2 separate regions of the Homo sapiens genome follow, and region 1 is linked to region 2. Evidence: promoter capture Hi-C in 16 types of primary human blood cells and fetal thymus (Javierre and others, 2016). All regions are on one chromosome and are shown on one strand. Each heading gives the region's core, a stretch centred on a gene start or on the middle of the fragment in contact. The rest is flanking DNA. Distances are from core to core; before and after follow the strand shown. Region 1 holds the start of IP6K1 (inositol hexakisphosphate kinase 1). Region 2 holds the start of RBM5-AS1 (RBM5 antisense RNA 1).

Region 1 (6,003 bases), core at 2,383-4,882, 310 kb after region 2:
GGGGGAGAGAGAGAGAGAGAGAGAGAGAGAGAGAGAGAGAGAGAGAGAGAGAGAGAGAGAGAAAGATAGGGTCTGGCTGTCTGGCTTTGTTGCCCAGGCTGGAGTGCAACGGTGTGATTGTGGCTCACTGTAGCCTTGACCTCCCAGGCTCAATCGATCCTCCTACTCAGAATCCCAAGTAGGTGGGACTACAGGCATGGACCACCATGCCTGGCTAATTTTTAATTTTTTTGTAGAGATGGGATCTCTCTATGTTGACCAGGCTGGTCTTGAATTCCTGGGTCCAAGCCATCCTCCCCCTTCAGCCTCCCAAAGTGCTGGGATTATAGGTGTGAGCCACCGTGCCTAGCTCACTGTTGCTTTTGTTGTTGTTGTTGTTGAGATGTTTCTCTTTTTAATTTTTTTCTTAATTTTTAATTTTTGTGGGTACATAGGTGTATAAATTTGGAGGTACATGAGATGTTTTAATAAGGCATGTAATGGTTAATAATCACCTCATCGAAAATGGGGCATCCATCCCCTAAAGCATTTATCCTTTGTGTTACAAATAATCCAATTATACTCTTTCAGTTATTTTAAACTGTACAATTAAGTTATTATTGACTACAGTCACTCTGTTGTGCTATCAAACACTAGGTCTTATTCATTTTTCTTTTTTTTTGGTACCCATTAACCGTCCCACCTCCCCACCCCTTCCAGACTCTGGTAACTATCCTTCTACTCACTATCTCCATGAATTCAATTGTTTTGTTTAAATCTTTTTCCTTTTTTTTTTTTTTGAGATGTAGTCTTACTTTGTCACCCAGGCTGGAGTACAGTGGCACGATCTTGGCTCACTGCAACCTCCGCCTCTCATGATCAAGCAATTCTCGTGCCTCAGTCTCCTGAGTAGCTGGGACCACAGGTGTGCACCACCATGCCGGCTAATTTTTTTATTTTTTATTTTTAGTAGAGATGGAGTTTTCCTATGTTGGCCAGGCTGGTCTTGAACTCCTGACCTCAGGTGATCCTCCTGCCTCAGCCTCCCAAAGTGCTGGGATTACAGGCATGAGCCTCCGCACCAGCCAATCTCACAATCTCATTCTTTTTAATGGCTGAATAATATTCCATTCTGCATATGTACCATATTTTCTTTTCTTTTTTTTTTTTTTGAGATGGAGTCTCGCTCTGTTGCCCAGGCTGGAGCACAGTGGCGTGATCTCGGCTCACTGCAAGTTCCGCCTTCTGGGTTCACGCCATTCTCCTGCCTCAGCCTCCTGAGTAGCTGGGACTACAGGCGCTTGCCACCACGCCCGGCTAATTTTTTGTATTTTTAGTAGAGATGGGGTTTCACCGTGTTAGCCAGGATGGTCTCCATCTCCTGACCTCATGATCCGCCCGCCTCGGCCTCCCAAAGTGCTGGGATTACAGGCGTGAGCCACCGCACCCGGCCCATATGTACCATATTTTCTTTATCCATTCACCTGTTGATGGACACTTAGGTTGCTTCCAAATCTTGGCTATTGTGAATGGCACTGCAGCAAACATGGAAGTGCAGATATCTTTTTGATATACTGATTTCCTTTCCTTTGGGTACATACCCAGCAGTGGGATTGCTGGATCATGTGGTAGCTGTATTTTTAGTTTTCTGAGGAACCTCCGAACTGTTATCCACAGTAGTTATACCACTGTTGCTTTTTGAGGGTCCCATCAAACTTCAGGGCAATTTGCCAACTGTATGTGGAGGTTTTCTTGGGAAGGATCTGGAGCTTTTGCACTGCGGTGAGGGGTGATGCAGACTTGAGAATCCTGTGGCATGGCTGGTCCTGGAGGATTAGCAGAATCCCCCTTTTGAGGGTTGTTGGCTTTTCTTCCTGATCTGTTTCTTCTGGTTCCTCTGCTCTCACATCTCCCTGTGTTGACCTGAGCTATTGCATGTAGCCAAGTGGCCTGCAGCAATCTGCTGGTGGGCAGGTCTTGCTGGATGCAGTGTTGGCCCACTCTCCATGCCCAACCTGACATCAGGTCTCAGGCTTCTGCCAGCTCTCCAAGAGGACCTTACTGTGGTAAATCCAAGTTATCACAGTCTTTACTCGTCTGTTGAGTCTGTGGGCCTGAACCCCCTCAGGGTACTGGAGAACCTCCCTTTTTTTTTTTTGAGACAGAATTTTGCTCTGTCACCCAGGCTAGAGTGTGGTGGCGTGATCTCAGCTCACTGAACCTCTGCCTCCCAGGTTCAAGTGATCCTCCTGCCTCAACCTCCTGAGTAGCTGGGATTACAGGCACCTGCCATCACGTCCAGCTAATTTTTGTATTTTTAGTAGGGACAGGGTTTCACCATTTTGGCCAGGCTGGTCTCGAACCTCTGACCTCAAGTGATCCACCTTCTTTGGCCTCCCAAAGTGCTGGATTACAGGCATGAGCCACTGCGCCTAGCTAGGAGGACCTCCCCTTCTGAACCAGTTATGGTATCCCAGGGCCAGGAAGAAGCTGAAAGCCTTCTGTGGGAACAAAACAAAGCAAAACAAAAACGCTTCATGGGGCTTCCACCAAAGTTAGTGTTTTAAGGCACGCCTCAGGAACAGCAACTTGGAAGCAGGTTGTTCCAGGAAGTGGTTGTAGGCAGATTTTTCCTGAGTTCTTCCCCTGCTCTGAGGGCTCATTAAATCTTCCTCTGAGAAGCTCCACTTTTATCTTCATTTTACAGATGGGACAACCAAAGCTAAAGAGAGGCTAAGGCTCAAAAGTCAGAGTTAGCTAGTTGGGGCATTTGGGTGTGGGCCCAGGCCACGTAACTTCATCTGTTGTTCTAAGCCTGAAGCCAAGCCCAGAGTTAGGTGTTCTGTATGGGGAGCAAGGTGTGACCATCTTCCTGGGACCATTAGTCTGCTTGGGAGGCCGGTCATGACAGTCCAGGGCAAAAGATGCTGTCACAGGATCTCAAGACAAGATGCTCTAGGGAAGAGAAAAGGGAGTGCCCGCTGTGTGTCAGGACTTGTGCTAGGCTCTAAACCTCAGGCAGGAAAGCATGGGCAATGAGCCAGAGGCTGCTGTGGCAGCACAGACTGCGGTACCTCGAGGCTAGTAAGGGACAAAGCGTGGGAAGCTGGGATAGAGGCTCCTCACACTCTGAAACCAGCAGGAGGAGGTGCGAGACCCAGCACCTCCATTTCTAGAGGTGGCGTGACCTTGGCTCGGCCTCCCCTCTCTGAGCCTCAGTTTCCTCTCCAGAGTGAACTGGGGGCTGCACCCCCCTTCTCCCAGAGTGGGGGACAAAAAAACGAATAGCACACCGCTGAGATTCCCTGTGTGTGCGCAAGTGTATGACAAGACGCCGCCGGTACCGCACGAGGGCCAGGGACGCAGAGAGGCCAAGGGCGCTCCGGCCTCGTAGTAGCCAGCGAAAACTCCGCCGCCAGCCACTCCGGGAACGAAGCGCATGCGCCAACCCATGCCGTCACAGTCACGTGCCCCACGCTTTCGGCAGAGGCCCTGAGAGGCAGACTCTGACTGACACGTGAGCTGACCTGTCAGCAGGAAGCACTTCCCCTGGCGACGAGCAAAAAGACTGTTGATTGGGGATAGCACCCCCTCGGGGGCGGGTTCTTTGCAGTCCTGGTTACTATGACGCCCGGCCCCCGCCCCCTCGGCTAGCCGCCATCTTGTTGTTGATCCGTACCCAGTGGGCAGCGCCGGGAGCTGGACCAAGCGGCCGGTGAGAGGCCGCTGTAGCGGTGCTCAGCCACCTGTGCTGCCTGCCAGGGGGCGGGCCGAAACCTGGAGGCCCGGGGGGCCCAGCTCCCGTAGGGAGCCGTGGGCGCTCGGTGCCCGGGCCGGGCAGGTGAGTGACAGGAGCCGGGCCGATAGACCGGCCTGACGCCCGCGGGGAGGGCGGTGGCGGGCGCGGGGTTGGAGTGGGCGCGTGTGGGGTCGGGGCTCCGGTGGGGCCATCACTGGAACATCGCTCGAGCGTCCTGACCGGCCGCCCGCCGAGCCTCCCAGATGCTGGCACCGAAGCCGGGGGGACAGCCGGTGTGGAGGACGGAGAGCGCCAGTGCCTGAGGGTTGGCCGGCTAGTAGCGGGAAACCAGCTTCTCTGACCGAAGCTCTGGACTCCGCTGATCCGGAGCGCTAAAGTGTGTCCGGTGCCACCCTGATGCTCTCCTGGGAGTTATGTTGCTCCTGGCTGAGAAATAGACTTACCTCTTTCTTAGATAGCGTTCCTGCGAGTGATTTTCAGGACGCTGGATGCTAAGACTAGACGAAGCAAGCCAAAGCCCCCGCGAGCCAGGCAGGCCGGTGTCACGGCCCTATGATTATGGCAAGGGGGACCCTCTGCCTGGCTGCTGCTTCCTGAGACCCGTTCGGAACCTCACGTGTACCTCGAAGCTCACCGTTTTCCTCGCAAAGAACCTGGTTAAATGTCCATAATGGCTGAGTTTTATTTTGGAACATAATTTCTTTGGTTCTTCACCACCACTTTTTGGAGAGTGGTAATGTCTTCCTCTTTTTGCTTTAGGAGAAAGTGAGTATTATGGTGATGACTTGATTTTATCTCCTAAAGGGATGCTCGCCATAGGAGACAAAGGAAACGTAGGAGTGTCTTAGAATCGGAAAAAGAAACTTGTTTTTGTTGTGGATGATATGGAACTGGCAAATTAACTGTTTTTTTTCTTTTTTTTCTTTTGAGACAGAGTCTCTCGCTCTGTTGCCCAGGCCGGAGTGCAGTGGCGCGATCTCGGCTCACCACAGCCTCCACCTCCCGGGTTCAAGCGATTATCCTGCCTCAGCCTCCCGAGTAGGTAGGACTACAGACACGCGCCACCATGCCCGGCTAATTTTTGTATTTTTAATAGAGACGGGGTTTCACCATGTTGGCCAGGCTGGTCTCGAACTCCTGACCTCGTGATCCACCCCCCTTGGCCTCCCAAAGTGCTGGGGTTACAAGTGTGAGCCACTATGCCCGGCGCAAATTAACTTTTAACAGTACTAAAATTATCTTGCTCAGTGAAAACACCTTCAAGCCCCTTTCCTGTGAATTTGGGCAAGTTGGAGATCCTCAGTAGAGTGTGCAGGTCTAGGAAGAGTTCTCATTGCTCCAAAACACATTTCTCTTGACCTGTGGCCTCTTTGGTTCTTTGTACAGTCTTCTTGTATGTGGTCATAGAATATGCCTGCATGAGATGACTAAGAAGTCAAGCGACAATACTTTGTGCACTTTTTGTTTTGTTTTGTTTTGTTTTGTTTTTTTGAGATGGAGTCTTGCTCCGTTGCCAGGCTGGAGTACAGTGGTGCCATCTCGGCTCACTGCAACCTCTGACTCCCTGGTTCAAGCAATTTTCCTGCCTCAGCCTCCCGAGTAGCTGGGACTACAGGCACGTGCCACCACACCTGGCTAATTTTTGTATTTTTAGTAGAGACGGGGTTTCACTATGTTGGCCAGACTGGTCTCGAACTCCTGACCTCATGATCAACCCGCCTCCGCCTCCCAAATTGTTGGGATTACAGGCATGAGCCACCGCGCCAAGCCTACTTTTTTTTTTTTTTTCTGAGACGAAGTCTCGTTCTCTCACCCAGGCTGGAGTGCAATGGCACAATCTCAGCTGACTGCAACCTCTGCCTCCTGGGTTCAAGCAAGTCTCCTGCCCCAGCCTCCCAAGTAGCTGGGATTACAGGTGCGTGCCACCATGCCCGGCTAATTTCTGTATTTTTAGTAGAGACCTGGTTTCACCATGTTGTTCAGGCTGATCTCGAACTCCTGACCTCCTGATCCGCCTGCCTTGGCCTCCCAAAGTGCTGGGATTACAGGCGTGAGCCACTGTGCCTGGTCACGCGCCTAGCCTACTTTGTGCACTTCTATCAGGATCTTGTCACCTCTGAATGTATAATTTTGAAAGAGGCCAGGTGCGGTAGCTCATGTCTGTAATCCCAGCACTTTGGGAGGCTGAGGCGGGCGGATCACCTGAGGTCAGTAGTTAAGAGATTAGCCTATCCAAAATGGCAAAATCCCATGTCTACTAAAAA
Region 2 (7,018 bases), core at 564-3,063:
GCCTTTACATTTCTCCTTCCCCCCACACCTTCTGCTTCAGGATGAGTCCTTTGGGGGGAAAGGGAGGGGAACTCATTTTTAAAGGGAATCTGGTTACAATTCTTTCTCAAGAGGGACTATTCTGAATGCCACCAACTCTAAAACAACTAAATGAGATTTTTTTTTTCCTGTCAACTGCAACCATGTCATGTCCTAGGTGACAGATGTGTTTTTCACTAAAATGGATGGTACTCTCTTCAAGGTGAGTAACCAGGAGGCCAATGAAGTTTCTTCAGGGGGGTAGGAAAAGCTCATAAATGCACACACCACCTCATCCTTCAAGTCAACCATGTGACTACAAGGACTTAGCTTTAAAAAGTCAAAATTCTGAGCTGAATCAATCTAGCCAAGAGTATACCTAGCACCTACCCCTAAAGAGCCTTCATTTAACAGGAGCATCTTTTCTTTTTCTTGGGGGTGGGAGGATCAAGGGTGGGGGTGGTTTGACACTATCAAACAGATTTAAGTAGGTGGTTAGATATCCAGATTTTAAAAAGGAGTCTAACCCCTCTAAACATACATACTGTTGAGCAATTTGGTTCTTGCAAATCCTGGAAGATTTAAGACATGCTGTGAATTTTGTCTCTGCGATATCTAAAGGCAAGACTGCATGTCTGGCCAGGAGAGAAAAAGCTGAAGGGCCATCCACTCACTGTGATATACAGAAGCAAAAATAAAAAAGCTGGGAGATATGTGAATAGATCATCCCACTAGGAGGGATGTGTGCTGGGAGACTCCAAACTACCAGTGAGTCCCTAATCCTACTGGCCTTTTATTTCTGGAGTGAATTTGAACTGTAATGTGTTACACAGTAACATAGCTTTGTATACATTAAAATTGTGGAGACTTTTAAATGTCTTACAGGTTTTAGTTTCTTAGGAGTTTTAAACTCCTAGGTTAGTCATTCTGACATATCCACTGCATCAAACAATGCTATCATGTCAAGAAAGCAGACTCACATGAACCTTGTATATGTTCTGGATTTACTAGGATGGTATCTATGGTATGAAATGAATGAAGCTCTACTTTTAATAAAATCAGGCTGTGATTTCTGGGTTAGGAAAATGAGAGGCTTAAAAACTTTAACAAATCAGTCAGTCAAAGTGATACCCTCATTAGTGAGTCTTGTTATAAATGGCAATATTACCAATCAAAGAATGTAACTTTTATTCATGGATTCATGGATGACTCAAATCACAGAATGCTGCAGAAAAGCAAGATAATGAGTCAAGCAAACTTCCCAGAATGCACTTGGTTAAAGGCATTCAATAATGTGCCTTGGAGTTCTTGCAAAAAATGTTATTTAAGTGCCAAGCACTGAACATTATCTTGACAAACTGAAGAACACTTCAGTTAACACTACCTCGAAGAACCATCAATGACTTGCTTTGAACAGACTATAAAAGGCATTCTCAAGGAGATTAGAATGTTAATGCCACTCTAACTAGATTAGACAGCTGCAGGACACCACTCCCAGGCTAATCTCATCAGACTTATTGTTCATAAATTCCACTAAGTCCTTAAATATTCCCTGAAGACCGGTCTGAGCAGTTACGCCTCCAGGAGGCTTTGTGGTCTTCAGGCAGAAATAAGGAATTACTTATAAAAATGCCGCCACAGACTTTCACTATGTTCTCTTCACTGTCAAATGGAGAGTTTGATATACTAAGCTTACTCTCAATGGACATAATAGGAATATAACAAACTAGAAAAAAGGGAAACATTAAGATGTTTTAGTGATTACCAGACAGGTATTCAGTAGTTAACAAAGCCCTGCCAGGTAGGTAGCCATGTTTAAAGGCAGAACAAATTCTATAATGAAGTCCTTGGTACTGTACTTATTCTAGTAACATCAATTTTAATATATACAAAGCTTTTTTTTTAAAAAAAAGTCACTCCTTTGGAACAAACCACTCCTTCAACCTTTTTTTAAAATTGTACAGACTTGTTCCATTTTCATGAATATCTAGACTTGGTGAGTGAAGCAACCTGATTGGCTTCCATCCAGCTGGTAGCATCTTGCAAGTGATAAAACTCCACGAAGGCGAAACCACGGCTTACACCTAGAGACAGCATTCAGATATAGACGGGATACTTGTGTTAGTCAGTTCCTTTATAACAGGTGAATCTCTCTCCCACTGCTTCAACACTGCGTGACAAAGCCAATTGGGAAGCAGCTTTACAAATGTGACTTGACTTGGGGATCTTCTTGATACTTTGCCATGGCAAGGAACAAGCCGCCTGAACTAAATGCCACTCCATTTGATTCCACGCTTAAAGTAACCATGCAACCGACTATAGTCAAAAAAAAAAAGGAGTTTATAAATCATTACTTACCTAAGGAAAAAAAAGTCCCTAAAACAAAGTTTAAAAAAGTTCCTCAGATGCTAACATGGTTTTCAAAGAGTCACATTCCTTAGCCATGGCAAACCTTTCATTCTGAATTCATGTGCTTGAAGACTGGGGGAATCAGGATGTTCTTTAGGGACTGAGGTGGGAATGGGGAAGAGAACAATAATATCAGGAACTAAGCAAGCTCTCACCTGTTTTCCTCTTCATCAGCCTCACATCCGCAGGCTGAGGGCCTTCGAAGGACTCCATCATTTCTCGAATCTGCACAGGGTTTTACATTATTTACAGTTAAAGCTTTTGCCACACACTATTCCCCATGGAATAGGAATTACATCAACTGTTTAATTAGCCAAGTTTTTTTTTTTTTTAAGATGGGAGTCTCTGTCTCTCACTCACTTGATTGCCCAGGCTGGAGTGCAGTGGCATGATCTCAGCTCACTGCAACCACCACCTCCTGGGTTCAAGCAATTCTCCTGCCTCAGCCTCCCGAGTAGCTGGGATTATAGGTGTGCACCACCATGCGTGACTGATTTTTTTTTTTTTTTGAGACGGAGTCTCGCTCTGTCACCCAGGCTGGAGTACAGTGACGTGATCTCGGCTCACTTCAACCTCCACCTCCTGGATTCAAGCGATTCTTCTGCCTCAGCCTCCCAGGTAGCTGGGATTACAGGCATCCACCACCACATCCAGCTAATTTTTGTATTTTTAGTAGAGACGGGGTTTCACTGTGTTGGACAGGCTAGTCTCGAACTCCTGGCCTCAAGTGATATGCCAGCCTCCCATATCATTACATGCATGACCCACCATGCCTGGCCTAATTAGCCAAGTTTTTATCTTCTATCACCAAAATGCAATTTTCCTAAAAGGCACAAAAAAGAGAGAACATTTCTCATAGAAATTAATGCATTATAACAGCACTGAAGGCATTCATTAAATGTTGCATGGGAATTTCCCTCAGGTGTAATTAATTTTTCCTTTTTTTTTTTTGAGACAGGGCCTAGCTCTGACACCCAGGCTGAAGTGCACTGGTGTGATCTCAGCTCACTGCAACCTCTGCCTTCCTGGACTCAAGTGATCCTCCCACCTCAGCCTCCTAAGTAGCTGGGACTACAAATGCACACCACCACACCTGGTTAATTTTTGTATTTTTTGTAGAGACAGAGTTTTGCCACGTTGCCCAGGCTGGTCTGGAACTCCTGGGCTCAAGCGATCCGGCCACCTTGGCCTCCCAAAGTGCTAGGATTACAGGAGTGAGCCACAATGCCTGGCCGCAATTAATTTCTGTTATGATACACATCCTTGCTTGTGGTATGATGTCTCAAGCCTCCATCCTTTAGTCTAATCTCCCTGTCCTTTGTTCTGCAGGATAGTACAGTGGCTCAAGCCTATAATCCTAGCGCTTTGGGAAGATGAGGCAAGATGAGCGCTTGAGCACAGGAGTGTGAGACCAGCCTGGGGAACACAGTAAGACCCCATCTGTATACAAAAATTTTAAAAATTAGGCCTCGCATAGTGGCTCACGCCTGTAATTCCAGCACTTTGGGGGGCCAAGGCAGGTGGATCACGAGGTCAAGAGATGGAGACCATCCTGGCTAACACAGTGAAATCCCGTCTCTACTAAAAATACAAAAAATCAGCCAGACGTGGTGGCACGTGCCTGTAGTCCTAGCTACTTGGGAGGCTGAGGCAAGAGAATCGCTTGACCCCGGGAGGCGGAGGTTGCAGTGAGCCGAGATCGCGCCACTGCACTCCAGCCTGGGCAAGAGTGAGACTCCGTCTCAAAAAAAAATAATAAAATAAAATAAAAATTACCCAAGCATGATGGTATACACCTGTAGTCCTAGTTACCTGGGAGGCTGAGGTGGGAGGACTGTTTAAGCCCAGGAGTTCGAGGTTACAATGGGCTATTGCACCACTGCACTCCAGCCTGGGTGACAAAGTGCAACCCTATCTTTAAAAAAATAAAAAAATAAAAATAAGGACTCAGATGAGATTTAAAAGAGGCAGTGGATGCGTCACTGTGCCCTGAAGTACGCCTAATCAAGAATAGCCTTCCTGCTCTTTGAGGCCTACTCTCAAAATAAGGAAAAAAATCAACAGCCAAAAAATGAAGAGCCTGATGATAAACTTTTTTTTAAATTTTTTTGAGATGGAGTCTCACTCTGTTGCCCAGGCTGGAGAGCAATGGCATGATCTCGGCTCACTGCAACCTCCGCCTCCTGGGTTCAAGCAATTCTGCCTCAGCCTCAAGAGTAGCTGGGACTACAGGCGCATGTCGCCACACCCAGCTAATATTTTATATTTTAGTAGAGAGGGGTTTCACCATGTTGCCCAGGCTGGTCTCCATCTCTTGGGCTCAGGTAATCCACCCACCTTGGCCTCCCAAAGTGCTGGGATTACAGGCGTGAGCCACCGCACCAGGCCAGGTAAACATTTTTAATGGATCATACTTTTCTTACAGTTAAATTATTGGTAAAAATTTTCAAAGTTCATCACATTCTTAGGCTCCTAATAAATCAAACATTAATTGGGGCTAGAATAAAGTATTCTGGCTGGTAGGCTTGTTCCAATGTCAGACCAACTCCTTTTTCCAAAAGGCCACAAAAATATACTAGTCTCTTCATCAATAATATCAGGCATGAATACTACCATGAAAAAAAAAACAGGGTGAAATTTGTGGAAACAAGATTCTCACTGGCCTCTACTTTCCATAACTAGGTGCAACGGCTGCAAGACTACACACAGCCAATCCTCATTATCCTCAGGTATCACACCTGTGAATTCAACCACTCATTAAAATTTCTAACACTCAAATCAATACTTGTAGCAGTTTCTTTTTTTTTTTTTTTGAGACAGTCTTGCTCTGTCGCCCAGGCTGGAGTGCAATGGCACGATCTCGGCTCACTGCAAGCTCCGCCTCTCAGATTCATGCCATTCTCCTGCCTCAGCCTCCTGAGTAACTGGGACTACAGGCGCCCGCCACCACGGCTGGCTAATTTTTTTGTAGTTTTAGTAGAGACAGGGTTTCACCGTGCTAGCCAGGATGGTCTCGATCTCCTGACCTTGTGATCCGCCTGCCTCAGAATCCTAAAGTGCTGGGATTACAGGCGTGAGCCACCGCACCTGGCCAACCCTCAGTAATATTCTTTTAGGCTTAGCTAGACTTTTGAGAACTCTAGCCCCTAGCCACAATAGCACTTTGCCACTCATCCCTCTCCTGCCAAAAGCCTCTGACTCCAGCCAAATCAAGCCGATTGCTAGGCCTTATCTAGATTCAGTACCTTTCTATTCCCTGCTCATGTGATACCCCTCCGCCTGAAGGGCCCATCTACCACACCATTCCCTTAGTTTTCCACGCCTATAATCCTAGCACTTTGGGAGACCCAGGCGGGAGGATTGATTGAAGACAAGAGTTCAAGACCAGTCTAGGCAATAAAGAGAGACCTTGTCTCTACAAAAAAAAAAACAAACGATAAAAAAAAAAATTAGCTCGGAGTGGTGACACATGCCTGTAATCCCAGCTACTTGGGAGGCTGAGGCTGGTGGATTGCCTGAGCCCCAAAAGTTGGAGGCTGCTGTGAGCCACAATCACGCGATTGCACTCCAGCCTATGCGACAGAGTAAGGCCCTGTCTCACAAAAATAAAAATAGAAGATTCCTTACCCTCCACTAGTAACAATTTCCTTTAAATAACCTTCAAGAGCTCTTAGGCAGACCTCTTTCAATAGGACCTTTTCCGACATGACCCTCTTTTTGAGACAGGGTCTTGCTCTGTCGCTCAGGCTGGAGTGCAGTGGCGTGAACACAACTCACTGTACCCTTGACCTCCTAGGCTCAAGTGATCTTCCTGCCTCAGTCTCCCAAGTAACTGGGACCACAGACAAGCGCCATTAAGACTGGCTATTTTTTTTTTTTTTTGGAGAGATGCGTCTTACCATGTTGTCCAGGTTGGACTTGAACTCCTGGGCTCAAGCACTCTTTTCACCTTGGCCTCCCGAAGTGCTGGGATTACAGGCATGAGTTACCATACTCGGCCTCTGACCCCTTTCTATTCTGCATTGTCACCATTATCTGCTGACCTTAGCTACTCATCCATAAGCTTTTTTGAGGCAAGATCCATAGCTCTGTGTCACTGTAGCATCTAACATGTACAGTGTAGCAGATGTGCAGTGGATCACAAATAATGGAATGATTACCCACTATTAACTCTAATATCCTGTCTCACATTTGTCACATTCATTACTTCCAGGGTTTAGAAACCCAAAGCTACGGGAATCCAATGCTTATTTTGAGCTTTATCCAAAATTCAACTAAACATTAGTCAGAATATTACTTTGATTACTCCAAGAAAACAAATACTGGCACACTGCTGTTTTAAAACCTCACATTCATTTTTACCAAGAGCACTGGCTGAGTAACATACTGTGTTCAAGGGTTGGGGACACAGAGGTGACTAGTTCACACAGAGGCCTATTTTCAGAGATCTTGTGGTAGAGATGAGACATGTGTGTTGATGGCTACAGTAAAGGTGCTACACAAAAGTCATGAATACAGTGCCTTAGGAAGAGAATAACGAAGAAGAAGCTCTGCCCGATAGATCAGGCTTTACATACAGGCGTCTCCAAGC

The links. The method cuts DNA at HindIII sites, captures the fragments that hold promoters and counts their contacts. A CHiCAGO score of 5 or more calls a contact.
Region 1: the fragment with the promoter of IP6K1 here is called in contact with a fragment that was not itself captured in region 2 in 4 of 17 cell types (endothelial precursors, erythroblasts, naive B cells and 1 more); the score reaches 6.8 in endothelial precursors.

The regions. Positions count from the first base shown.
Region 1 is chr3:49,784,171-49,790,173 of GRCh38, reverse strand. It overlaps IP6K1 (inositol hexakisphosphate kinase 1), which reads left to right and starts at 3,632. Exons shown (of 6, transcript NM_153273.4): 1 at 3,632-3,820. RefSeq lists silencers at 1,779-1,988, 2,769-2,933, 3,669-4,018 and enhancers at 3,109-3,178, 3,265-3,954. The HindIII fragment of the contact is 18,469 bases long and covers 1-6,003 here.
Region 2 is chr3:50,095,616-50,102,633 of GRCh38, reverse strand. RBM5 (RNA binding motif protein 5) reads right to left here. Exons shown (of 25, transcript NM_005778.4): 5 at 2,583-2,652; 6 at 2,029-2,102. It overlaps RBM5-AS1 (RBM5 antisense RNA 1), which reads left to right and starts at 1,646. Exons shown (of 1, transcript NR_045388.1): 1 at 1,646-3,031. RefSeq lists a silencer at 1,991-2,191. The HindIII fragment of the contact is 203 bases long and covers 1,712-1,914 here.